5 separate regions of the Homo sapiens genome follow, and regions 1, 2, 3 and 5 are each linked to region 4. The links are contacts of gene promoters, found by promoter capture Hi-C in blood cells and fetal thymus (Javierre and others, 2016). All regions are on one chromosome and are shown on one strand. The core of a region is centred on a gene start or on the middle of the fragment in contact, and the rest is flanking DNA. Distances in the headings are between cores, read along the strand shown. Region 1 overlaps TPCN1 (two pore segment channel 1). Region 2 overlaps DRC10 (dynein regulatory complex subunit 10). Region 3 overlaps TPCN1 (two pore segment channel 1). Region 4 holds the start of DTX1 (deltex E3 ubiquitin ligase 1). Region 5 holds the start of TPCN1 (two pore segment channel 1).

Evidence for each region. Contacts are between HindIII fragments. The CHiCAGO score rates a contact against its expected background, and 5 or more counts as called.
Region 1: a contact is called between a fragment that was not itself captured here and the fragment with the promoter of DTX1 in region 4, in 1 of 17 cell types (non-activated CD4 T cells). The highest score is 6.4, in non-activated CD4 T cells.
Region 2: a fragment that was not itself captured here is called in contact with the fragment with the promoter of DTX1 in region 4 in 4 of 17 cell types (naive B cells, naive CD4 T cells, naive CD8 T cells and 1 more); the score reaches 5.9 in naive B cells.
Region 3: a contact is called between a fragment that was not itself captured here and the fragment with the promoter of DTX1 in region 4, in 7 of 17 cell types (naive B cells, total B cells, activated CD4 T cells and 4 more). The highest score is 9.2, in naive B cells.
Region 5: the fragment with the promoter of TPCN1 here is called in contact with the fragment with the promoter of DTX1 in region 4 in 1 of 17 cell types (naive CD4 T cells); the score reaches 6.1 in naive CD4 T cells.

The regions. Positions count from the first base shown.
Region 1 is chr12:113,255,258-113,260,849 of GRCh38, forward strand. It overlaps TPCN1 (two pore segment channel 1), which reads left to right. Exons shown (of 28, transcript NM_017901.6): 3 at 5,111-5,235. Among named protein-coding and RNA genes, the nearest start is that of MIR6762, 33 kb to the right of the region's middle. RefSeq lists an enhancer at 1,514-1,683. The HindIII fragment of the contact is 7,288 bases long and covers 1-5,592 here.
Region 2 is chr12:113,194,614-113,200,186 of GRCh38, forward strand. DRC10 (dynein regulatory complex subunit 10) reads right to left here. Exons shown (of 5, transcript NM_001330452.2): 4 at 2,928-2,999; 5 at 833-1,276. The coding sequence ends at 962. Among named protein-coding and RNA genes, the nearest start is that of RITA1, 12 kb to the left of the region's middle. The HindIII fragment of the contact is 4,086 bases long and covers 1-3,293 here.
Region 3 is chr12:113,235,833-113,240,848 of GRCh38, forward strand. All of the region lies in intron 2 of TPCN1 (two pore segment channel 1), which reads left to right. Among named protein-coding and RNA genes, the nearest start is that of TPCN1, 17 kb to the left of the region's middle. The HindIII fragment of the contact is 2,975 bases long and covers 973-3,947 here.
Region 4 is chr12:113,054,176-113,059,118 of GRCh38, forward strand. It overlaps DTX1 (deltex E3 ubiquitin ligase 1), which reads left to right and starts at 2,555. Exons shown (of 10, transcript NM_004416.3): 1 at 2,555-2,769; 2 at 3,274-4,276. The coding sequence starts at 4,018. It also overlaps the pseudogene RPS15AP32. RefSeq lists an enhancer at 3,793-4,581. The HindIII fragment of the contact is 5,893 bases long and covers 2,058-4,943 here.
Region 5 is chr12:113,220,016-113,225,186 of GRCh38, forward strand. It overlaps TPCN1 (two pore segment channel 1), which reads left to right and starts at 1,449. Exons shown (of 28, transcript NM_017901.6): 1 at 1,449-1,611. DRC10 (dynein regulatory complex subunit 10) reads right to left here and starts at 1,079. Exons shown (of 5, transcript NM_001330452.2): 1 at 982-1,079. RefSeq lists enhancers at 678-827, 4,158-4,327 and a silencer at 3,149-3,443. The HindIII fragment of the contact is 6,265 bases long and covers 1-2,316 here.

The sequences.
Region 1 (5,592 bases), core at 1,259-3,758, 200 kb after region 4:
CAATTGGAAATTGAGATTAAAAGGCAACTTCATTTGCAACAGCATCGGAAATATAAAAGACTTAGTGATAAATCTAAGAAAAGATGTGTCAGGTCTGTATACTGAAAGCTGTAAAATATTACTAAGAAAATTTAAAAAGATCAAAATAAACTGACAGATATACCATATTCATGGGTTTTTAAGAGTCTCCCCAATAGATCTGACATAATTTCAATCAAATCCCAGCAGACTTTTTTTTTTAAGTAGAAATTGACTAATTATTATTATTAATTAATTTTTTTTTTTTGAGACAGAGTCTCAGTCTGTAAGCCAAGCTGGAGTGCAGTGGCGCAATCTCAGCTCACCGCAACCTCCACCTCCTGGGCTCAAGTGAGTCTCATGCCTCAGCCTCCTGAGTAGCTGGGACTACAGGCGCATGCCACCATGCCCGGCTAATTTTTTGTATTTTAGTAGAGACGGGCGGGGTTTCACTATGTTGCCCAGGGTGGTCTCGAACTCCTAAGCTCAGGTGATCCACCTGCCTTGGCCTCCCTAAGTGCTAGGATTACAGGCATGAGCCACTGTGCCTGGCCTGTTATTATTATTGAGACAGGATCTTGCTCTGTCACCCAGGCTGGAGTGCAGTAGCTATGATCATAGCTCACTCTAGCCTTGACCTCTCAAGCTCAAGCCATCCTCCCACCTCAGCCTCCTGAGTAGCTGGGACTACAGGTGCAAGCCACCATGCCCAGCTATTTTTTATACTTTTTGTTATGAGGTCATAGTATGTTACCCAGACTGGTCTTCAACTCCTGACCTGAAGCGATCCATCCACCTCAGCCTCCCAAAGTGCTGGGATTATAGGCACATGCCACTGTGCTTGCCTAATTTTTTTACTTAAAAAAAATTTTTTTTTTGTAGAGATAGGGTCTCACTATATTCCCCAGGCTAGGTTTCTATTGATTGATTGATTGATTGGACTCTTGGATTAGGGACAAAGAAATTGACTAATTCTAAAGTTCATATGGAAGTTCAAATTTTTTTACTTTTTAAATTTTTTTTTTTTGTAGAGGTAGGGTCTCACTATATTCCCCAGGCTGGGTATGCATGTATGTATGTATTTATTTATTTGGACTCCTGGATTAGGGACAAAGAAATTGACTAATTCTAAAGTTTATATGGAAGTTCAGAAGAACTGGGCTAGCCAAAACAACTTTGAAAAAAATATGAACAAAGTTGGAGGATTAACACTGCCTGATTTTAAGACTTATAAAGCCTCAGTAACCAAGACATCGAGGTATTGATGTGAAATCTTTGTTTTTATTTTTCTTTTTTAAAGACAGTGTCTTTCTGTGTTGTCCAGGCTGGCTTGAACTACTGGGCTAAGGTGATCCTCTCACCTCAGCCTCCTAGGCACTGGGACTACAGGCTTACACCACTGTGCCTTGATGTGGAATCTTTTTTATTTTAATTTTTTTGTAGAGACAAGATCTCACTGCGTTGCCCAGGTTAATCTTGAACTCTTGGGCTCAAGTGATCCTCCCCACCTTAGCCTGATGTGAAATCTTTATGACCAGGGGTTAGGCAAAGATTTCTTAGATATGATATCAAAAGTATTAATCCATAAAAAGAATAAATGGATAAGTTGGCCTTCATCAAAATTTGTAAAACTTCTGTTTTAGTGACCTTTGAAAGGCACTGTTAGAAAAGAATGAGAAGACAAACCACAAATGGGAAAATATTTGCAAATCATCATGTATCTGATAGACTTGTATCCAGAGTGTATAAAAGAGCTCTCAATTTAATAATAAAAAAAAAGAAAAAGGTGAAAGATCTGGACACTTCAAAGAAGATAGATGGTAAATAAACATATGGAAAGTTGTGCAACATTATTGTTAGGAAAATGCAAATTTCAAGCATGAACATGAAAAACAATGATATACCACTACCCATCTTTTGAAATGCTTAAAGTTGGCCAGGCGCAGCAGCCCATGCCTGTGATCCCAACACTTTGGGAGGCCGAGGCGGGCAGATCACCTGAGGTTCGGAATTCAAGGCCAGCCTGGCCAACATGGTGAAACGTCTCTACTAAAAATATTTAAAAATTAGCCAGGCATGGTGGTGCGTGCCTGTAATCCCAGCTACTCAGGAGGCTGAGGCAGGAGGATCACTTGAACCCAGGAAGTGGAGGTTTTAGTGAGCTGAGATGGCACCACTGCACTCCAGCCTGGGCGACAGAGTGAGACCGTCTCAAAAAAAAAAAAAAATGCTTAAAAAGAGCGAGCATATCAACAGTTGGTGGAGATGTGGAGGAACTGGAACTCTCATATACTGCTAGTGAGAATGTAAAATGGTACAATCATTTTGGAAAACAGTTTGGCAGTTTTGTAAAAAGTTAAACATGTGATCTAGCTATTTCACCTCTAGCTTTACCAAAAGAAACAAAAAGTGTACATCCACACAAAGCCCTGAATGAATGTTCATAGCAACTTTGAAATAACCCAAAACTAGAAACAATCTTAGCTGTTCATCAACAGGTGAATGGATAAACTGTGGTATATTTATTACTCAGCAAAGAAACAGAATGAACTGTTGGTACACAGTGCAATGTGGATGAGTTTTTAAATAATTATTCTGAGTGAAAGAATCCAAGCAAAAAAAAAGACTACATACTGTATTATTCCATTTATATAATACATCATGTAAATATATATATTATATGTAATAATAGATGCAGATTCATCTAATAGTAACAGAATGCAGCTCAGTGGTTGCCTGGGCATGGATGGGCAAGGAGGCACGGGAGGGTTATGGATATGTTATCTTGATTGTTGTGATGATTTTACAGATATGCACGTAGGTCAAAATGTATCAAACTGTATTCTTAAAATATATACTGTTTATTGTGGCACAACTTAGCGAAACTGTTTTTAAAAATGGGTAGGGTTGGCCAGGCACGATGGCTCACATCTATAATCCCAGAACTTTGGGAGGCCCAGGCGGGTGGATCACTTGAGGTCAGGAGTTTAAGACCAACCTGGCCAACATGCTAAACCCTGTCTCTACTAAAAATACAAAAATTAGCTGGGCATGGTGTTAGGCACCTGTAATCCCAGCTGCTCGGGAGGCTGAGGTGGGAGAATCACTTGAACCTCGGAAGCAGAGGTTACAGTGAGCTGAGATCACGCCATTGCATTCCAGCCTGGGTGACAGAGTGAGACTCCATCTCAAAAAAAGGAAGAAAGAAAAAACAAGGGTGGAGTGGCTGGGCACAGTGGCCCACACCTGTAATCTCAACACTTTGGGAGGCCAAGGCAGAAGAATTGCTTGATTCCAGGAGTTCGAGACCAGCCTGGGCAACAAAGGGAGACTCCACCTCTATAAAAATACAAAAATTAGCCAGGCGTGATGGTGCATGCCTGTAGTCCTAGCTGCTCAGGAGGCTGAAGTAGGAGGATCTCTTGAACTCAAGAGTTTAAGACTGCAATGAGCCATGCTTGTGCCGCTGTACTCCATTCTGGGTGACAGAGTGAGATCTTGTGTCTTAAAAAAAGCAGGGAGCTGGGGAAGTAAGTTGCATGTGGCTGGACCTCATTGCTCATGACTGGCAATTCAAGATCAGAAGGACCTTTTGCAACCCAGCAGGCCTTTGAGCCCTGTCAGTCTCCTGTCCCTTGCATGGTTGTAAGCCTTACACATTTGCTTTCTGCCAACTGTGCAAATCCCAGTATCAAAACATTAGATTTTTTTTTTTTTTTTTGAGACGGAGTCTTGCTCTGTCCCCCAGGCTAGAGTAGTGATGCGATTTTGGCTCACTGCAACCTCCGCCTCCCAGGTTCAAGTGATTCTCATGCCTCAGCCTCCTGAGTAGCTGGGATTACAGGCACCTTCCACCACGCCTGGCTACTTTTTGTATTTTTAGTAGAGTTGAGGTTTTGTCATGTTGGCCATGCTGGTCTTGAACTCCTGATCTCAGGTGATCCGTCCACCTTGGCCTCCCAAAGTGCTGGGATTACAGGCGTGAGCCACCGTGCTCAGCCCAAAACATTAGATTCTTTATCTTCCTTCGGGTGGATCATTTACAATGCAGATTTACAGATTTCTCTCAGATTCACTTCTTCCCAATGAATGCGTCATTTCTTGGTGCCGTTGTTTACTGTGTGTAAACTACTGAATTTCAGGATTATTGTGACAAACCCAACTCAGACTCAATGGGATCTGTTTATCAGCTTGGATTTTGGAAATTAAGGGGTAGATTTCAGGCACAGCTGGATTCCAGAGGTGCAGCTGGTGTTAGTGTTATCTATTGGTTATTGTTTTGTTGTCTGCTGACTTCCTTCTCAGGCAAGTTTTCCCCATGTGGTGGCAGAGGCAGCCGCCAGCAACAACAGGGAAAGAGCCCCTCCTTCCTAATTGGCCTGGGAACAGTTTCAAGTTCAGCTGTCACTGGCTGGACTTGGGTCAGCAGCTATGCCTGAATGCCCAAGGGAGATGAGGGGCTTATTGCCAGGCCCAGGTCACCTGCCTGGGAACCAGGGGTGGAGTTGGCCAGAGCCAAACAATGTGGACAGAGAGCAAGGAGGGGATGTTCTACAGAGACAGATGGCCCAGTGTTGCTGGGAGAGGAGGGCGTGGCTGTCAGCAGGGAAGAGCAACAGATGGCCCTGCACCAGGGGACAAATCCAGTTGTTTTTAATTTTTAACTAAGTAGGATATTAATATGCTTCCAAAAGTCAAAGGATTCAAAAAGGGTCTGTCTACCCTATTCCTTATAGCCCTTGTAGGGCGACTGATTTCATTGACTTCTCATTTTTCCTTCCTGTGTTTCTTTTGGTAAAGATAAGTCGATGTATTTATGTTTTCTTGTTTCCTCCCTTTTGTACACATTAGAGAGCATACTATTTGTACTCTTTTGTACTTGCTTTTTTCACTTATCAAGAGAAAGGAAAACATTTGTAACCAGCTGTGCTAATTCTTGCCATTATCAGTACACAGCATGGAGGTTGATTTGAAGATGACGGGATGTCCATGTGAGCATATGAAGGGACTGCCAGGCTTTTCTTCTGCCAAACGGTGTCTTTTTGCTCTTAAGCCTGGGTGCCAAGTGAATCTCTCTCCTCTTCCAATGCAGATGGCGGCAGCTATGCCATCCACGACTCCCAGGCCCCCAGTCTCAGCTCTGGGGGTGAGAGTTCCCCCTCCAGCCCCGCACACAACTGGGAGATGAATTACCAAGAGGCAGCAATCTACCTCCAGGTGAGTATCTCCAGTCAGGCCCTGGCAGTTGTCTGCACCTGTTGGTGGGGTGGGGCAGCCAAGACTCTGTTAGGTGCCCAGAAATTCAGTTCCAGCATCAGTTCATGCTGCTGCTGCTCGTGTGTGAGCTTCAGGTTCATAAGATGGGCTGACCTGACTGTGCTCATAGGGGAAAACTGCTGTGCACCAGCTTGTCTTCAGACCCCTGTTTAGGGCTGTGCCAACCCCCACAATTTCCGGAGTCTGGCCACTCGGCCTTCCCTGCCACCCTCCCTCTTCTCAGGGCACACTGAGAGGCCACGTTCTCAGGAGGGAATTCTTTACATACTGAATGCGGTAGCTTTATTCCTGTTTAAC
Region 2 (5,573 bases), core at 1-2,500, 140 kb after region 4:
AGGAGTTCAAGACCAGCCTGGGCAACATAGTGAGACCCTGTCTCTACCTACCCTTTTTTTTTTTTTTTTTTTTTTTTGAGACAGGGTCTTCCTGTGTCACTCAGGCTGGAGTGCAGTGGCACAATCTCAGCTCGCTGCAATCTCGACCCTCCCAGACTCCAGTGATCCTCCTACCTCAGCCTCCCAAGTAGCTGGGACTACTGCCGTGTGCCACCATGCCTGGCTAATTTTTTAATTTTTTGTAGAGACAAAAAATAAAACATGGGGTTTTGCCATGTTTCCCAAGCTGGTCTCAAACTCCTGAGCTCAAGTGATCTGCCTGCCTCAGCCTCCCAAAGTGCTGCGATTAGAGGTGTGAGTAACCACTCCTGGCCTAAAAATTTTTTACTTTAAAAAAAAAAAGTTGTTTTAAATAATTGTTCAGCTCCCTGGAATGTGAGGCTGAGGGCTGCTGTGACCTCAGGACTCCCTCTGAGCTTTCACAGTGCTAGAGCAGGGGAAGTTGCAAGCAAATTAATCCCAGAACAGGGTTAGGGGCAGCCTGAAACCTGAGGCCCCGCTCCTCCTGGAGTTCCCTGCCTGCTTCTTTGCCCCCTATGGGCAGCTGTGACCCACACCCCGCTGCCCTGGTGAGTGATGTGTCCATCATGGCCATGGCAGCTTCCGGGCTGCAGCTGGGGTCTGGTTTCCCACTAAGGCTGAAGTAAGGAACCATAATCTCTGGGCTGACACCCCAGGCTGCACGCTCCTCATGGAAACACCATCTGTGAGCTGGACACACACAGCCCACAGCCCTGGGTAAAGAGATTTATTCGTAGAGCGTTCCCTTCAATGTGGCTTCAAATACTTTTTAATTTATTAAATAAAAACATGAAAGCCGTGAATTTAGTGCTCTCCATCTCGGGCCTTCCTGGCCTGGTCTCTGGGAAGATAAGGGTCAGGAGCGGGCTGGGTGGAGAGCTCATTTCTTGCCCTTGCCCTTCTCCTTGCCTTTCTGCTTGCCCTTCTCCTTGTCCTTTGCTTTGCCCTTGCCCCGCTTCTTCTTGGATCTGAGCAGGGAGCGCACCAGATAGCCCTTCCATAGGGCCTGGATGAGCGTGGCCGCCCGTACCATGCGCACCATCTCCTGCTCTGCCTCCATCCTTTTCTTGGAGTTGATCTCCCGCTCTTCCCGGATCTGCGCAAACTCTCCCACCAGCACTTTGTGCCTCCGCCTGAGCTCCTCCAGCGAGATCTTCTCCTCCCTGTGAACAGCGTCCAGATCCTCCAACTCCTCCTGGGGTGAGGGGTGGGGCTGGGGTCACCACACATAGAGTGCCTCCTCCCACCCTCCTCCCTGAGGCCCCCTTACCCTTCCCAAATGGTCTTCTGCCCCAGCGATGCCCCTAAGCTAAGCTGTTCAGCATCTCTCGGTCCCAGTGACATGGATGGGGAGAGGGGATGGGCTCCATCCTAGCTCTAGGAAGGACCCAACTGAAATAATTTCAGGAACAGGAAAAGAACATGGGCTTGTGAGTTGGGCAGACTTAGTTTTAAGTCCCAGCTCTGCCACACCTCAACTGACTTCACCTTTCGGGCCTTCGTTTTTCCTCATCTGAAACATGGGGACGATTCCGAAGCCAGGGGCTGTTTCTAGGATTAAATGACCCGATGGACACAATGTACTGGACATGATGCCAGGCACACAGTGGGGACACAAGAAATGGAGGCTGCTGCCATGAAAGCAGTCTGTTCCACAAGACACCAGAGGAGAAGGAACTTTCTCAGGCCTCAAACGGAGTCCCAGAGTTCTTCCTTATGTCTAACCATAGCCTCTCCTGCTGTCATTTACACCCGTTTTCCTTCCTTCCACTGATGTTTTCCCAGCATCTACAAAAAGCAGAGCACTGCCAGAGGACACAGAGCTGGGTGGACAAAGTCCCTGCCCGCAACCAACCCACAACCCTCATGGGACCCAGAGAAATGAGAGCCCCCGCCTGCAAAGCTCCCCTCTCCAGGCCCTGATGGTTGCCCAGGACAAGGTTCTGACTTGCCCTTCTCTGAAGAGCACACCTGGCTTTGGCTCACTCCAGCGCATATTACCTCCAGTGCTCTCCAGTGCTCCCCAGTCCTCCCTGGCCCCTGGGTTGGAGCCATGGGCCACCAATGTTATCCCAGTGCTGGGTGAAGGGTTTGGGCGTGTCTCGATTTGAAGGTTACCACCCCCTGAGCACTTCCCTCCAGGCCAGACCCTGTGCTGGGCACACACACTTGCAGCCATGGTGTCTCACCGAATCCCCGCCATGGTCCCAAAATGGGAATTACTGCCTTTGCTAATCAGATGCAGAAACGGGCTTGGGAAGGTCAAGTACCTTGCTTAAGGCCACACAGCTGGCACATCTCAGGTGCTCAATAAAAACTGGCTGAGTGACTGAGTGATGCAGTGGAGGCAGGCTCCCATCTGAGTCTGTGGGAAGGAGCCCCACCTTGTAGGGGTGCTGGCAGGAGCCCATCCAGAGGAGTATGGGATGTGGACACTAGATGGAGCCATGATCATTAGGCCCAGTGTCAGAGTGTCAGGCCCTTCTAGCCAGTCGCTTTTTTTTTTTTTTTTTTTTTAAATTAATAGAGATGGAGTCTTGCTCTGTTGCCCAGGCCGGTCTTGAATTACTGAGCTCAAGCGATCCTCCCACCTCAGCCTCCCAACGTGCTGGGATTACAGGCATGAGCCACAGCACCTGGCCTTGCAGCTTCTGGCTCTTTTCTTTCCCACCTCTCACTCTGCCCCAGGCTGGACAAACCCTTTAAACAAAGGGAAGTGCTCCCTGCAGAGAGGCTCAGAAGTTTGCCCACTCCATGGACCATCCCAAGGCTACTTTTCCCATTCATCCCATTCCTAGAAGGTCTTGGGAAAAGCATGCGAGAGAGACTTATTCAGCGACAAATACCTGCTTCTCACCCATCTCTGTATCATATTTCTGGATCCAGTTCTCGATTTCCGTTTCCACTTTATATTTCTTCTAGAAAAGATCCAATTTGTCATTGTTTGATGGAATATATTAACAATCAACAGCACTGAGCACTCTCTGCATCACTAGGCTCTGGCAGGTGCTTGACATGCCTCGCCTATTGAACAAGGAGGTTCCCTTTTCTCCATTTCACAGGGGAGAGAACTGAGGCTCAGACATGCTATCTTACTTGCCCAAGGTGACAGAGCTAATGGGTGGCAGAGCCTGAATTTGATGCCAGCAGCCTGGTTCCAGGACATCCTAGGCAGAGAAAGCAGCAGGTGCAAAGGCCCTGAGGTAGGAACAAGCTTGTGCTGTTTAAAGGACAGAAATCAGCCTGGCGTGGTGGCTTACGCCTGTAATCCCAGCGCTTTGGGAGGCTGAGGCAGGCGGGTCACTTGAGGCCAGGAGTTTGAGACCAGCCTGGCCAACATGCCAAAACCCCATCTCTACTAAAGATACAAAAATTAGCCAGGCATGGTGATGCACACCTGTAATCTCAGCTACTCAGGAGGCTGAGGCAGGAGAATCACTTGAACCCAGGAGGCAGAGTTTGCAGTGAGCTGAGATCATGCCACCACACTCCAGCCTGGGTGACAGAGCAAGACTGTCTCAAAAAATAAAAATTAAAAAAAAAATTAAAGGACAGAAATCAAGCCAGTGTGACTGGAAGGGAGTGGCGAGGAGGAAAGTGGTCCCCAACAAGGTCCAAGGAAAAGGCTGTGTCACAGAGGGAGTGTCAGCAAGAGGAGGCTGTATTCTCAGGAAAGGGTGAGGTGAAGCCACTGGGTGATTTAGATGCAGTGGAGGGACATGATCTAATCTTGTTTTTAAAAGATTATTTCCACCATAAAAAGCAGTGAAGCACTGATCCATGCTACAACATGGGTGAACCTTGAAAACACAGTGCTAAGTAAAACATGCCAGACACAACGGCCACAGAAGATTCCATTCATATGAAGTGTCTAGAATAGGTGAATCCACAGAGACAGAAAGCACATTAGTGATTGCCAGGGACAGGGGGAATAAGGGAATGGGGAGTAACTTCTTAATGGATATGGAGTTTTATTTTGAGGTGATAATGTTTTGGAACTAGATAGAAGTGGTGGAAGTGGGGGTGGCACAACATCGTGAATATACTAAATGCCACTGAATTGCTCATTTTAAAATGGTTTTATGTTATGTAAGTTTCACCTAAATTAAAAATAAGCAGGCTGGGCCAGTGGCTCATCCCAACCATTTGGGAGGCCACGGTGGGAATGGGAGAATTGCTTGAGGCCACAAGTTCTAGATCAGCCTGGGCAACAGAGCAAAACCCTGTCTCCACAAAAAATGATACTTTTTTTTTTTCTTTTGAGATGGAGTTTCGCTCTGTCACCCAGGCTGGAGTGCAGTGGTGTGATCTCGGTTCACCGCAACCCCCGCCTCCTGAGTTCAAGCAATTCTCATGCCTCAGCCTCCCAAGTAGCTGGGATTACAGGTGCATGCCACCACGCCCGGCTAATTTTGTATTTTTAGTAGAGACAGGGTTTCACCACATTGGCCAGGCTGGTCTCGAACTCCTGACCTCAGGAGATCCGTCTGCCTCAGCCTCCCAAAGTGCTGGGATTACAGGCGTGAGCCACTGCTCCCAGCCAATAATAATAATTTGTAATTAGCCAGACGTGGTGACATGCCCCAGCGACCCATGAGGGCTGAGATGGGAGGATCACTTGAGCCCAGGAGTTGGAGGCTGAAGTGAGCTATGATCACGCCACTGCACTCTGGCATGGGTGACAGAGTGAGACCCTGTCTCAAACATAAATAAATAAATAAATAAATAAATAAACCCCCTAATCCTACAGAGCAAGAGCCCTTAGCTTGGGCACCATGGGTAGGCCGGCTTCAGGGGGACTGGGCTCCCCAGGGAACTGTCCACTAGGATGTGTAAGTGCATCTGTGCCTTCTTTCTGGGGGAGAGGCCCGTGGCTTCCATCAGATGCTCAAGAGTGTGACACTAAGAGACTGGAGACAAGTATTAAAAAGGGTGCCTTTTACAAGGAAAGAGATTTGGAAGTTGGGTGTGTGCTAGGCCTGGGTCTTGGCTGAGATGATGAAGGAGAAGGCAAATGAAGGTTTTGGGTTTTTTTTTTTAAGAGGCAAGGTTTCACTCTGTTGACCTGGCTGGAATGCAGTGGCACAGTTATAGTTCACTGCAGCCTCCAAACTCCTGGGCTAAAGTGATCCTCCTGCCTCAGCCTCCCAAGTAGCTGGGACTATAGGCACACATCACAGCGCCTGACTAATTTATCTTTTATTCTTTGTACAGACAGGGTCTTGCTGTTGCCCAGGCTGGAGTGCAGTGGTGCAATCACAGCTCACTGCAGCCTCCGCCTCCTGGGTTCAAGCGATCCTCCCACCTCAGCCTCCCAAAGTGTTGGGATTACAGGCATGAGCCACCTTACCCGGTCAGAAATGATATTTATTGAACACTTACTATGCACCAGCTCTCTCACTACCATCTCATGTAATTCTCATGTAACAACCATTAAGACCAATGTTAGCATTTTCATTTCTGAGGTGTGAAATCGGCAGCTGGGCAGGAGT
Region 3 (5,016 bases), core at 1,210-3,709, 180 kb after region 4:
GCATCCAGATTGGCTTTAGAGATCGGATTAAGCTTGAGTGTGCTGAGTGTCTAAGGAGATGAACAGGAAGTGAAAGATTCTCCCAGAAGAAAGGAATAGGGGAGGAAAGGTATACATGTGCTGGAGTGGGTGGCATCTGAGTCAGAGGGTTGGGGAGAAAGGTTAGATCCAAATCTTGAGGGTCTCCTTGCCTGCACTCCTAGAGCCATACTGAAGAGGAGCTGGACCTTCATCCTGGGGTGGCGGAAAAGCCCCGGGCACTTTAAGCAGGGGAATGACCATTGTTTTTCAGGGTAGTGTCTGAACATTCATTCATGCTGCCCTGGCAAGAGCAGTTGGCAATGATGGCAAGACCGGGCAGTGTGGAGGTGGCCCAGGGACACGGGGTGCCTACTGTGTTTTGCCTGAACTGTGTTTTAAGAGGCTGCATAACCAAGCAGTTGCTGTGCACGTACAGCTTGGCATCTGAGTCTCCCACCCCCCGGCACCCCATGTTTGTTACCTGCCTGGTGCCTGTAGGCATTTGAGTTTGTAGCCCCTGGTTGAATTCTGACGGTACAGCCCTTTGGCTGGACACCATGCAGCTCAGCCAGGGGAGTAGCAGAAGATCAACTATGGACAGGTGTGACTTAGGAAGAGGTGGAGTTTGGGGTGCTGGGGAGAGGGACCGAACATCCCAGGGAGGGGAAATGGCATAGGCTGAAGTAAGGAGGGGGGTTGCAGTGAGTCGAGATTGTCACTGCACTCCAGCCTGCCTGGGTGACAGAGCAAGACCCTGTCTCAAAAAGAAAAAAAAAAAAAGAAGTAGGAACTCTTCTGAGACCCACACCCTGGACGGGGCCAGAGACTAGCATGCTGGGGGCAGATTGGATTTGGGTGTGGTTACATGCACTCTGGGGTCAGACCCACTGAGTTTGAATCCAGCCCTGACTTCTCCTGCTGGGACTTTGGGCAGATGATGTAACCTCTCTAAGCTTTGATTTCCTCATCCGTAAAATGACACTAATATTAGTATTACCTTTTAGGACTGTTCTGAGGTTTATACAAGATAGCATGCCTCACACAACTAGCACAGTGCCTGGCTTATACAGAATGAGCATTGGGTGGATGTCAGCCATTATAATTAGGGTCAGGGGTCAGAGCAGGCATATCTGTTTTACAGAGTGCCTAAAATGCTGATGGCAGGAGTTTGGACCTGGTTGAGTTGGGCATGGGAGCTGCTAAATGTGTTTGGGCCAGAAAGCAAGTGATGACAGAGCATCTTCCTGCTGACATCTTGCCAGCTCGGGATGCTGTCTCTAGCCAACTTGATAAGCCCTGAGCTTAGAAACCCTGGGGTGGGTCAGCCCTGAATAGGGGTTACTTTTCCCTCTGGAGATTGAGAGGTGGATGGAGAGGAAACTGCCAGGCTATTCTGCAGTAGTAGGAGCCGGATTTGGCATTTTTCTCTCTGTGTCTGTCTCCCTGACCAGTCACTGAACTTCCCCAGGTCCCAGAAGCTCAGCTCAGTAGCTCAGTTCCTACTTCTTTTTTTTTTTTCTTGAGTTAGAGTCTTGCTCTGTTGCCCAGGCTGCAGTGCAGTGGCACAGTCTCGGCTCACTGCAACCTCCGCCTTCCGGGTTCAAGCAATTCTAGTGCCCCAGCCTCCCCAGTAGCTGGGATTACAGGTGTGCACCACCGCACCCTGTTAATTTTTTTGTATTTTTAGTAGAGACGGGGTTTCACCACATTGGCCAGGCTGGTCTCAAACTCCTGACCTCAAGTGATCTGCCCACCTCGGCCTCCCAAGGTGCTGGGATTACAGGCGTGAGCCACCATGCCTGGCCAGTCCCTACTTCTTAAGAGGCACTCAGGAAGCATCTGGACAATGCTGAACAGATGAGGACTTTCATAGGCTCACCTGGCCTGGGGTCTGGCCCAGGAGGGTGCTCTTTGATGAGAAACATCCCAGCGGTATTGGGCATGGAGGAAGCAGCTAGTGAAAGAAAAGCAGAGCTGATGGGAGGAAGATGTTTGACTGTGCCCAGCCCTGCCACATATCTCCCACTTTGCCCTCCCTAATCCCACCACACCCAGCTCTTAGGATCAGAAAGTACGTTGAAGTTCCAGGGCCACTCTCCTGAATAAAAAGTGTGGCTTCTGTTTCCGGCAGATAAGTTCCTGCTTTGTTCCAGTGCACTGACACAGTCCCCTGAACAACCCATCTTGGGTTGATCAGGAAGTTCTTAGTCTGTTCAGATGGCAGCCTACCTCTCATTTTATCATCCTCCTTCACGATAAAGCCCTGATGTTCTGCCTTTCCCACTTAGTGGAGAAACCTATCCTCATAGCCACACTTCCGGTATTGAGGAATTGGCATCTTGGAATACAGCTTGGGTATTTGGATGACAAATTATTAAAAATATTCTGATCTCTTTGCCCACATATTTTAGCTGTAGAAGCAAGCAGAGAGCATCATGTTACTGCAGCAGCAGTGCCGCTTATTTTTTTTCCTTAAAAAACATGATTTAGGGGTCCTAGTTTTGGTGGCTTCCTGCTTCAGCAGCATTTGGAAGACTTGCAGATATGTCCTGTGAGTGCCACGTGGGTGTGACCCCTGCTCCTTGGCCTGGCAACAATCCAGTAGCTGTATATTAGAGTGTCCTTTTTGCTACCTTAAATGACCAAGTCTTCCCCAGAGCCATTCTTGCTATCTCTTGCTATCCACCTGCCTCGGCCTCCCAAAGTGCTGAGATTACAGGCATGAGCCACCACTCCTGGCCCTTCCTGTTTATTTAGCTGAAGGCCTTGAGAGCCTTCCCTAACCTTTGAGGATAGTGGTTGTGTTTCCACAGTCTCTCATTCTCCAGGTATGCTGTTTATACCTCTTTCTCTGCTCTTCACGGCACAGAGACCCACTCGCTCCCCAGCACCGGGATGTGATCGATTTGATGATTGAATCAGAGTTTGCTTTGTGCCATGATGGATTGTGAGAAAATGGAGTTTTGATGAATTAGGTAATTTAAAATACGGGTGGGAGCCAGGCGCAGTGGTTCACCCTGTAATCTTAGCACTTTGGGAGACCAAGGCGAGAGGATCACTTGAGGCCAGGAATTTGAGACCAGCTTGGACAACATAGTGAGACCCCATTTCTAAAAAGAAGTTAAAAAAAGTTAGCCAGGTGTGGTGGTGCACACCTGTAGTCTCAGCTCCTTGAGAGGCTGAGGCATGAGGATTGCTTGAGCCCAGGAGTCTGAGACTGCAGTGAGCCATGATCACACTACTGCACTCGAGCCTGGGCATAGAGTAAGACCCTGTCTCTAGAAATACATATATACATATATATTTCAAAATAAAATATAGGTGGGAGGGCTAAGTTTGGCAAAGAATCCTTTCGTAGTATGAATAATACCCATTCTGTTCATCCAGCATCAAGCAGGGTTTTGTGAATCCTGCTCCCCCCAGCTAGGGCTTACCTGGTTTGTGAGTTTCTTTCTTGTGTCTCCCTGATGCCTGTTTGAGATGACTGGGCAGGGCAGGGCAGGAAGGTAGAGGCCTAACCCAGTGTAATGCCTGGGTGTTAATGGCTGTTGTTTTAGGTGCTGATGTTTTACACAGCTGTGCCTCTTTCTGGTAGTACAAGTTTTGCAAAGGCAGGGATCATGTCTCTTCTACACATATTCTGGGCACAATAATAGACATAATAGAAGTTGCATATCTGGGAGTGAGTCACCGGTTTCCAAAAACATCCAGGGTCCCAGGTGACTGTCACAGCTAAACCAGCCCCTGGAGCCACTGGAGGGTGACAAGGAGACTCATTCACATGTGATCAGACCAGAAGTAGCCCAGCAGGGCATGGCGTTGCTGCCCCTAGGAACAGCCTACTTTTTGGATGTTTGGGTCTCTGCTTCCAGCTTCGAACTCCCCAGGAGCCCACACATGTCCAATCCCAACCTTCCTTCCATCTAAGCTTCCCCGTCGCCGCCCTACCATTTGTAGACTGCCTGTCTCTCTTTTTTATCTCTCTTTTTGTTAGATTGGGATTTTATTATTTTTTTTTCCTAATTCTTTCAGCACTTGCTGAAAACCAGCTTGGGCAGAGCGACCTGTGCTTAGTGCTGGCTAATGGCTTGGAGCTGCTCCAAGCTGCCGGCTGCGCTGCCTTTCACTTGTGGGTGGTCGTCGACAAGCATGATGTCTTCTCTCTGTGACTCTCGAGGGGCCTCTCTTCTTGCGGGCTCGGCTGTTCACACTTGGCTGGCCTGCCTGGTTGTTTGGAATTGCAGTTTTTACTGCACAGCCTCGAGCCAGTCTGGTAGCTTCAACAGGGCGCAGATTTTATGAGTGCTAAAGTCCACTCAGCCTCCAGCCTAGTTGGCCCATTTGATTTTGTTGCATGTTGTTTTTTGCTATTTCCTCTTGGAGACCAGACGCCGTCCAGAGTGTATGGGGACACAGAAGTCTATAAATGGAGGTGGCTTGGGAGATTCTTAGGCTGTGATGAATGTGTGTCTATTGAGGAGTGATGGTACCTGCTGGTGTCTACAACGGTTGAACATTTTCTGAGTGTCGCGCAGTCTGCAAAGGATGGGGTTGAATTTCTGGCATCGTCTCTTGATAGCTGAACATCCTTGAATGAGGAGCTGAGCTTGTTTTTTCCTAAGTTGCAGTTTCTTCATTGTAAAATCAGTATATGATTGTCTACAGTCAGAGTCTCAACCCATGAGTAGGTAATTGAAGGACTTTCTGCATTGAGGATGTGAACCTTTCCTCCGTTCTCACATTCTTCCGGTTCCTCTTAAGGGATGTGAGTTGGTAGTTTGCATTTTCTGAAGTGTTGTAGCAGTTGAGGGACAGTAGTTAACTTCCTTGACTACCATTCCTGTTGTGTTGCAGGGAGAATTAAAAATCAAGCAGCTCCATCTCCTGCCCATTCTTTTTTTTTTTTTTTTTTGGAGACAGAGTCTCACTCTTGCCCAGGCTGGAGTGCAGAGGCACAATTTCGGCTCACTGCAACCTCGGCTTCCCAGGTTCAAG
Region 4 (4,943 bases), core at 1,305-3,804:
TGTGATGATGAAGTTTAGTTTACATCAGTGAATTTGCAATCATCAATAATCACAGAGCTAGAAAAATCACTGTGGACCTCACAGGCAGGTTAAACAAGTGTACAGTGACAAGCCCCAGTTTGATGTGCAACTCAAAGATCTAGAAAAATGGTACCCCTATCCCCTTTGGTTTCATTGTCCTGACAACCTCAGCTGGTATCAGGGATTGCAAGGAAGCAAGACAAAAATACACAGGAGGGAAAATCCTGGGATTGTTTTTCTAGGGATGTAATAAATTCATATGAATAAAATGCCTCAATGGACCAAAAAAAAAAAAACAGTTCATGATTGATTGCTTTTGCTTTTGTCCTATTGACTTCCCCATTGGTATCTGAGCCATCCCTCCCATGAATTGTGGGCTCCTTGGTGGCCAAATTCCTTCCCTCTCCTTGGAATTCTTTTCTCCCCAAGTTCCCTGGGAGCAGAGTGTTGCATTCCCAGATGTTCCAAACCCAGTTGAGAGGGGCCATTAAGGGCCACTCTGCACCAGATCCTCAGCTGGGTGCCATCCAGTAGTCACTCAACAAACACAGAGGCAGCATGGTGCTATGGGAGGTGCAAAAGCATTTGGGACTCAGACCCTAGCTCTGCCACTTACTCCTTGTGGGAACTTGGGTAAGCTACTTAGCCTTTCTGAGCTTCAGGAGGTTTTTTGTTTCCTTGTGTAAAATGAGGACAACATTACCTTCCTTGTGGGGCAGTTATGAAGAGTAGTAAGTATTATTTAAGTGCCTGGCACATAATAGGCACTCAGTAAATGACACCCTTATGTAATGGGGCACCAGCCACACCACACCAAGATGAATATGATGGCTATCTCACTCTAGCAGGGACAGATTTCATTTAAGAGGCTAATTGTGATACAGGGTGTCATGTCAAGGTATGGGCAAAGGAACACAGAGGAAGATGGGGTGAATTCAGGAAAGGCTTCCTGGAGGAGGTGACATTTAATCAGACCTTAAATAGCATTCGACAGGAAGTCCAGAGACACGAGTTCTTCTTTCCAATTTGCTGCTAAATCACCATGCGACCTTGAGCCAATCTCTTCTCCACTGTGGGATCCCCAGATCCTTCTACAACATAAGCTGGTTGAGCACCTGCTCTGAATCCGTTCAGTCACAGTCTCCTGTGAGAAGAATCTGCTGACAGCCAGAGCCCTTCTTCCCAGACATACAAGACACACAATGCCTAGACACACAAGTTTGCCTGTAATGGGAGAGGGGGACTTCATGGACCCCAGAAGGCCATCCAGGGACCCTAGGCTAAAATCCCAGAACTCAGTGATCCTGTGGGAGTATCGTCAGACTTGGCCCTGCCCTATGCAAAGCCTCTCTCTTTAGTCTACAGCAGGTGAAAGCAAGCAGAATCATTGACCCAATCTGAAAAAGCCCATCCAACACTGGGCTGCAGGTCAGAGCAGGGGCCTGGGGAGGGGAGGTCCCTCCAGCTGGCCGGAGAGCCAGAGCTGGATTCTGGGAAAGCACCCCTGAGCAGCCTGCCCCTGACCCTGCCTAGTGTATCCCCATCTGCCCCGGGGAGGCAGGCGTGGGCTGCTCTGGGCAGGCGCCCAAACAGGCCACTGACCCCCGTCAGCCACCCAGGCTGGAGTTCCCGGACGCATCCTTCATCTTCCCCAATCTAAACACCCCCAGGCCCCAGGTGGTCCACCCCCCTCCCAGCCAATGTGTGTCTCAGCCGCATCCAGCTTGCTGGAGGACAGGGGGACTGGCCATCCCGTTAACACTTGAGCCGCTGCCATTTCCAGCCTTCCCTTCCATCCAACCAATGCTCACCCACCATTTATTGAGCACCAGTTGTTTGCAGGTGGCTGTGAATGACATGGCAGAGGGCCTGCCCTTCTCTTCCTCCAGGATCTCACCTCCTGGCCAGGGTCCCCTCCCCTGGTCCCACCCCTCTCACCTGGAGCAGGTGGGTGCTTTGGGGGAAGTGGGCTCAGGGCTGGGAACTGGGTACTGGCAGGAGATTCAGATCGGGGTTGGTGTCTGGGCATCGCTCTAAGCTTTTGTGATCCTGGGCCTGGCTCTTACTCTCTCTGGCTTCAGTCTCCTCATCTGTACTCTTCAGATTCCACGGTTCCAACTGAGTCTGAATCAGGCCTTGTCAGCACCCTCCCACCCCCAGGAATAGTTAGAGGAGGAAAGGAGGCTAGCTCTGAATGCTTCAAGATCTTTCTTTAGACAGTCTCTGGATCTTATTCATTCATTCAAGCATTTATTGAGCACCTATTCAGTGCCAGGCCCTGGACTGGGAGACTGGAAATAAAGATGACAAAGATTCAAGCCGGTGACTCCTAAACATCCCACTCCCTGCCTCACGCTCTGCTTGGGGTCAGAAGGCCCCTTGGGGTCTCGGGAGGGCCTGGCCGAGGATTTGGGGCGCCCCGAGACTCGCGTGTCAGCGCCGGTGGCGCTCAGGGCCGAGATCTGTCTCCTCCCCTTCCTCCTCCTCCGCCCCCTCCCCTCTCCCTCCCGGAGCACGGCCGAGGCCTCCTCCCACCCGCGAGATCCCGGCGGCCGCCAGCCGGCTCCTGCGTCCGTCCGTCGGCCGGGCAGTCTGTCCACGCGCGGAAAGCTCGGCGCGGCGGCCGAGGGGCCTGGGAGGGAACGGGCGCGGAGGCGGGACCGCGGCTCCCTCCCACTCCGGGGGGAGCCCAGGAGGCGGCGGTGCTGGAGCGCGAGCCGGAGCCGGAGCCGGAGACGAAGAGAGGCGGTGAGAACGCGGGTGCTTAGGGACCCCACCCCCGGCTCCCGCTGGGGGCCCGCGAGCGGCTCGGGGACGTCTGGGCTGGGGAAGCGGGGCTGTTACCCCCAGGGCGGGAGGCAGAGACGATCCAGCTCCTGGCTTCGCCCCCTCCGCGACGCGACCCCCGAGGGGCCCTGGGCCGCGCCTGCAGCGCCGCGCATCCCCGTGCTTCCCGGCGCACCCCAGCGCACCCGGCATCCCCCCGGCAGGGCGAGGGCCCCGGGGGAAGGGAAGGCTCCGGGAGCCAAGGAGGGCGCCCCCCAGGCGGAGAGTCTCGGAAAACCGCGCCCCCGGCCCCTGCCTTCCCTCCAGGCCTGCCCCAAGGGAAAGCGGGCGGGGCGACCCCGTACGCCCCCCTTGCTGTCCCCCTTCGGTTCCCCATTGTTCTCAGCCGAATGCTCTCCTGGGAAGGGGGGAGGGGGTGCTGCGCTCTCCTCTTAAAGGGCCCTCTCCCCTCTTGTCTCCTGGCAGGTCGCGAGCACGAGTGGGGTGGGGCGTGCCCACGGGCCCCCGCCCCCCTCGTCCCCCTCGTCCCCCAGCCCAGCTCCGGAGCCGCAGTCCAGGCGCGCCGCCCGAGGGTCCACGCCGCACCCCTCCCCCGTGCGTTCTGCGGCCACCCAGGCCTTCCAGGACACCGTGGAGAGGGAACAAGGGGGCAGGGACGCCCCCTTCGGCAGGAGCCGTCGGAGAAGGGGGCCCAGACCGGAGGGAGGCGAGAAGCCCCACTGAAGCCGGGCGCAGGGTCTGGGACGCAGTTGGGAGTGCAAAGGGCTGGCTGAGAGCCGCAGGAGCAGCAGGCTGTGGCCCAGGCCTCCTGGGTGACAGGCCCTGTCTGGCGGGGAAGAGGGACCAAGAGACAACACGGAAGAGGCTGGACCTCGAACAGGGGCGGCTGCCTCACTCCCTACCTGAGCCAGCCGAGGGGGCCAAGGACTTTAGAGCTGTTTCCTCCGGCATAAGAGAGACACTTGCTTTCCAGGGCAGCACCCTTTATCGGAGAAGGCTCTACAGGGAAGGGGTCTTTGCAGCCTGGATGGCCATCCCACATTCCTTTAACGGAGGTCTCTAGGCCTCAGAGAGAACCCAGAGTTAGAAAGGAGGCCAGACGGTCCTTGCTGTCCCCCTGGGGAGAGAGGAAGTTGCCGCCTGCTGCCAGGCCCAGGAGGAGCTGGGCCTGCAATAGTGGGGGACCTGGCCCCTGAGGCAGTGGCGGCCATGTCACGGCCAGGCCACGGTGGGCTGATGCCTGTGAATGGTCTGGGCTTCCCACCGCAGAACGTGGCCCGGGTGGTGGTGTGGGAGTGGCTGAATGAGCACAGCCGCTGGCGGCCCTACACGGCCACCGTGTGCCACCACATTGAGAACGTGCTGAAGGAGGACGCTCGCGGTTCCGTGGTCCTGGGGCAGGTGGACGCCCAGCTTGTGCCCTACATCATCGACCTGCAGTCCATGCACCAGTTTCGCCAGGACACAGGTGAGCAGACACCCACCCCATGCCACCCGCCCCGCCGAGCCATCACTACCTTGCAGCGTAGGATGCTGAAAATCCCAGTAAATCTGCTGATGCCAAATCCCTTCCCCATCTCCCTGCCTCACCTCCAGAAAAACAGGGCAGTCTAACCTTGTCCAGTTTAAGACTTGGATTCCAATGCAGCCTCTGAGCAAGCTGTAGGGCCTTGAGCAAGTTGCATCATCTCTCTGAGCCTCAGTTTCCTCATCTGCAAAATGGGTAGATCAATATCTCTCACAGCTGAGTGAGGATTAAATAAAATTGTGCTCACTGAGCACAGAACCTAGAACAGCAGTAGCATGGGATTGTAGAATAAGGGCTTTACATGCACTTCCTCATTTGATTTTTCCCAAGAATCACAGGCAGTAAGTCTGTGTATTGTTGTATTATTATGAGTCCCATTTTATAGATGAAGAAACCGAGTCTCCCAGAAGCTGAGTGATTTAAACTCAGAGCTGGGATTTAAACCCAGGCGGTTGAGTTCCAGAACCAAAGTTCTTAACTGGTATCCTATACTGGCTCCAAGTGTTGGTTTGTGGGGTGGAGTCGTGCTGGTGGTAATTAATTGGGGATGGGGGGCGTTGGTGGTGTTGATGGTGGGGTGAGGTGGCAATGATGGAGGAGACAGTGT
Region 5 (5,171 bases), core at 199-2,698, 160 kb after region 4:
CAGGCTAGTCGCAAACTCCTGGCCTCAGGTGATCTGCTGGCCCAGGTGATCTGCTGGCCTCGGCCTCCCAAAGTGCTGGGATTACAGGCTGAGCCACCGCGCCCGGCCCTTAGCCTCATTTAATCATCACAAGAAACTCTCTGTCTTCAGTAGGTACAATGAGATCACATCTTAAGGATGGAGATGGGAGTTAAATTCCAAAGTTAGGATAAAGGCAAAAGTGGTGTAATAAAAATTACCTAATTTATTTATTTATTTGAGACAGAGTCTTGCTCTGTTGCCCGGGCTGGAGTGCAATGGCGCTATCTTGGCTTACTGCAACCTAAGTCTCCCGGGTTCAAGTGATTCTCGTGCCTTAGCCTCCCGAGTAGTTGGGATTACAGGTGCGCCTCCATGCTCAGCTAATTTTTGTATTTTCAGTAGAGATGGGGTTTCACCATACTGGCTAGGCTGGCCTAGAACTCCTGACCTCAAGTGATCTGCCCGCCTCGGCCTCCCAAAGTGCTGGGATTACAGGCGTGAGCCACCATGCTCGGCAAAAACAACAACAACAACAACAAAACAAACAAACAAAACTACCTAATTTAAACACTGAAGTGAGATTGCCTGCTCACCGAGGAACGTATGGCCGTTGGGTGAAATGGGAGGGGACTTATAAACTCCCCTCCCACCCACAGCTCCCATGTTTGACTTGAAATAAGTTAACTACGATATGACTCTGCTTGACTGTTGTCCTCCTCGTTTTAGGGATGAGGGAGTGGAGCCATGAAGTGGGCAGGTAGAAGGGCAGAATGGAGGCCGGCTCCCTGCAGGTTGTGGAGCGAAAGGTCCAGACTAAGGCAGGAGCTGAGGGACAGGGTCCTGAAGCTGAGACGAGATCGCAGCGGGGGCTTCTAATTCCTCAGGGAGCCAAAGGACAGAGGGCTGAACCCTATTCCACATCTCCCCCGATCCGCGACCCTTTCCCAACTGGCTACTCACCTGCTCTGACCGCTCCAGGTTTCCCTAGCCACAGTTACCGCCGCGGTCCCTGCGTTGCTAGGTTACCCGCCAATCTCAGAAGGCGAGACTCGGTGTCTGACTGACCTTTCTTTTCACCATTCAATTTATTGTTCCGCTCAGTTGTCCCCACCTCCTGAAGTCTGACCAATCAGAAGCACCGCCATTTTGACCTTTCACCAATGGAAAGACTTGGGACTCCCTCTGGGTTGGACTCAACGAGTAAGGCGGGGAACAAGGGAGGAGTAAGGGGCGTGGATTCTTCGTCCCGCCCCTTCTTAAGGAGGCGGGCAGGGAGTACCGCATCGGCGGCGGGCGAGACCTGCGGAAGGACGTGATAGTTGGCCAATCAGAGTTCATCACGGTAGCCCAGTTAGCCAGTAGGACGCTGTGAAGGGGAAATGGGGCGGGGCCAGCGGGGTTGAGAGGACGGTAGGCGGTGGATAGGAGAGCTGGCGCAGCTGCCCTGGTGGCAGTGGCTGAAGTGGCGGCGGCTTCGGCGGCTGCGGCGGCTGCAACAGCTTCGGGCTCGGGGTTTTGGCGGCGGCGCCGGCGGGCTAGGCTGCGCGGTGCGGACCCCGGCGCGCGGTCCGGGTTGCTGGGGCGGCGCGTGTAAGAATCCGAGGGATGCGACGGCTTGGCCCGAGGGAGAGGGCAGGGATCAGGGGTCAGAGGACGCGGAGTAAGGGGTTGCGGCGCAGCACTCTGGTGTGGGAGGTGGGCCGTACGGGCCCAGAGGGGGCGCAGGGAAGTCTCCACCGCGCTTCTCTCCGTCCAGCCCGGGCCGGGGCTTTGCACCCTCTCTCCTCGCCCCCGACTTCTTAGGGCGACCCTCACGTGGGCTCCCAGCCAGGGGCTGGGAGCACGTGGAGCTGGAGCCAGCTGTCCTGCCTCCTTCTTCCTCCCTCCCTCGCTCTTCTCCCTGGCGCCCTTAGGTGACCCCACAGGAGTCTTGTGCCTGGGTCAGGCTGCCCCAGCGGACAGCGGGATGGTAGCTGAACCTCTTCCCCTAGGCCCTTTCCCCAGCGCTGGCCAGTTGGGTCCTCTGTAGAGGCAGAAGCAAAGCCCGCGGAGGGAACACTGGACCAGGACGCAGGAGTCCCGGGTTCTAGCCCTACTCCTCCACTGTGTGACCTTGGGCAAGTCTCTTCCCCTCTCTGGGCCTCATTTTTGTCTGTCTGGAAAAATGACGTGTTTGAATTCAAATCAGGGGACTGGTTCTAGTCGTAGGTGTATATAGGGTAATGGTTAAGCAGGCAGGGTCCCTGATTCAGACTGCCTGGGTTGAAACTTATAAAAGGCAAGTTAACCACTCCAAGCTTCAATTTCCTCATTCCTAAAGTGGGGATATTAGCTAAGATAGGATTTTTCAACAGCAGCTCAGTTGACATTTTGAGCCACATAATTCTGTTTCGGGAGGTCTCACCTGTGCATTGAAGCAAGTTCAGTGGCATACCTGGACTCCACCCACCAGCAATCCCCCCACTCCCAAGTTGTGACAGTCAAGATGTCTCCAGACATTGCCGATGTCCCCATGGGGGCAAAAATCACCCCAGTTGAAAGCCAGTGGGCAAAGGCAGTACAGGCAGGCAAGCAGTCATATATTAAACAGTTAAACAACCGTGTTGAAGCATTTGAATGCGAGGACTTTAATCTATGGTGGCAGATATCATGAAAATTATGCATGAACAACCCCCCTGCCTCTTTTTTTTTAGCTCATCATTAATGGTAGTGTATTTTATGTGTGGCCCAAGATAGTTCTTCCAGCGTGGCCCAGGGAAGCCAAAAGGTTGGACAGCCGTGAGTTAAAACATAGAAACCACTAGCCATTATGATAATGGTAACATTAAGAAACCTCTTCTCTGTGAGTTAATAAATTCTCCTGCCTTCAAAGTAAACATGGGAGATAATTGTCAAAGCTGAGTAATGGATACAAGGAAGTTCACGTATATATTCTCTGCACTTTTGAGAATGTTTGAAAATATCTGTGGTAAAAAGTTAAACCAAAACGACAATACAACCATAATTCTTAAGACTGCCAAATAGTAGTGTCTCATCTGGGATTTCCTCTTCTGCCTTTCCACTGCTGAGATTTAAAAGCAAAATAAATCCCCAGATCTGGAGGAAACTTAAGAAAAAAAAACTCACAGGAAGTGTGCTGGGCAGAGAGCTACGGGCTTAGCAGCAAGTAGAATGATGTTTACTTTCGCTGCCTTGTTTCAAAACGTTGTACTGTTCCCTGTGGATGCACAAGGATTTGCTTGGAGTTGTTCCAATGATTCGAGGAAGAAGTCAGTTGCTCAGCTGCCATTGACTAGGTCAGTTGGGAGGCAAAGTGGGTTGAGCCCAGAGCCCACAGCTTGAGGAAGGAACCTGCTGCTGTTTGCAAGTTCAAAGGTCTGCAGTCAGATCTGCTGAGTCTTTTTTTTTTTTTTTTTGGTTCTTCTCAGCGGAAACGGGAATGTGCATAAATAGGAGCTGTAACAGGCTAGCTCGGAGTGTTTTACTTATTTAGTTATTTTTAAATTTTTAGTTTATTTATTTTTTGAGATGGAGTCTCGCTCTGTCGCCCAGGCTGGAGTGTAGTGGCGTGATCTCAGTTCACTGCAACCTCTGCCTCCTGGGTTCAAGTGATTCTCCTGCTTCAGGCTCCCCAGTAGCTGGGATTACAGGCATGCACCACCACACCTGGCTAATTTTTGTATTTTTAGTAGAGACCAGGTTTCGCCATGTTGGCCAGGCTGGTCTCAAACTCCTGACCTCAAGCGATCCACCTGCCTCGGCCTCTCAAAATGTTGGGATTACAGGCATGAGCCACCACTCCCGGCTGCTCTGAGTGTTTTAAATTGGGAGTTAAGGATGAGCACTTTTACTGTATTAAAAAATACTCACCAGTTAAAAAAAAATACTCTTTTCCCCTTCCTCGGACACCTAAATCTAAGAGAACAACTCCTATATAAAAATGATATAAAAATCATACATTTTGGAAGTATGTTTCTAACTGTTCTGAGAGGCTGCATGGTAAAGCTGAAGTGAAAGATGTATTTTAAATCTGTATATATGAGCAAGTATATATTGATGATTGAAGCTAGGTGCTGCCTAAATACATGGCCCAGACTTTGAGGAATTATAGTGTAATGGCTGGGAATACAGGTTTGGAGTCACACCGTAGAGCTGAAAGCTTGGCTTTTATTTAGCTGTGGGTCCTTGGGCAGGATACGTAATCTGTCTGTGCCTGAAATACCCACCACACCCATCCTGTAATGGGGGGATAATAAGCCTGCCTATCTCATGGGGCTATTAAGAATTTTCAGTTAACTTTTACTTATGAAGTGCTAGTAGGGTCCCTCATACATAGTACGCACTCATTGAGTATTAACTATTATTATTATTACTATTTTGAGACGAGTCTCGCTCTGTCGCCCAGGCTGGAGTGCAGTGGTGCAATCTCGGCTCACTGCAAGCTCCGCCTCCCGGGTTCACGCCTTTCTCCTGCCTCAACCTCCTGAGCAGCTGGGACTACAGGCGTCTGCCACCACGCCCGGCTAATTTTTTGTATTTTTAGTAGAGACGGGGTTTCACCATGTTAGCCAGGATGGTCTTGATCTCCTGACCTCGTGATCCGCCCGCCTCGGCCTCCCAAAGTGCTGGGATTACAGGCATGAGCCACCGCGCCTGGCCGCATATTAACTATTATTTTAATGGTTGTATTTTTTTGTCATTTAATTTAATTAAATTAATTTATTTATTTATTTGAGGTGGAATCTGGCTCTGTCGCCCAGGCTGCAGTGCAGTGCACCATCTCGGCTCACTGCAACCTCTGCCTCCTGGGTTCAAGTGATTCTCCTGCCTCAGCCTACAGAGTAGCTGGGATTACAGGCGCAAGCCACCACACCCAGCTAATTTTTGTATCTTTAATAGAGGCGGGGTTTCTTCATTTTGGCCAGGCTGGTCTTGAACTCCTGAGCTCAAGTGATCCACCCGTCTCTGCCTCCCAAAGTGCTGGGATTACAGTTGTAAGCCACCGTGCCCAGCCTTTTATTTTACTTTATTTTTTAGAGACAGGGTCTCACTCTGTTGTCCAGGCTGGACTGCAGTGGTGTGATCATAGCTCACTATAACCTCCAACTCCTGGGATCAAGTGTTTCCGTCACCTCAGCCTCCCAAGCAGC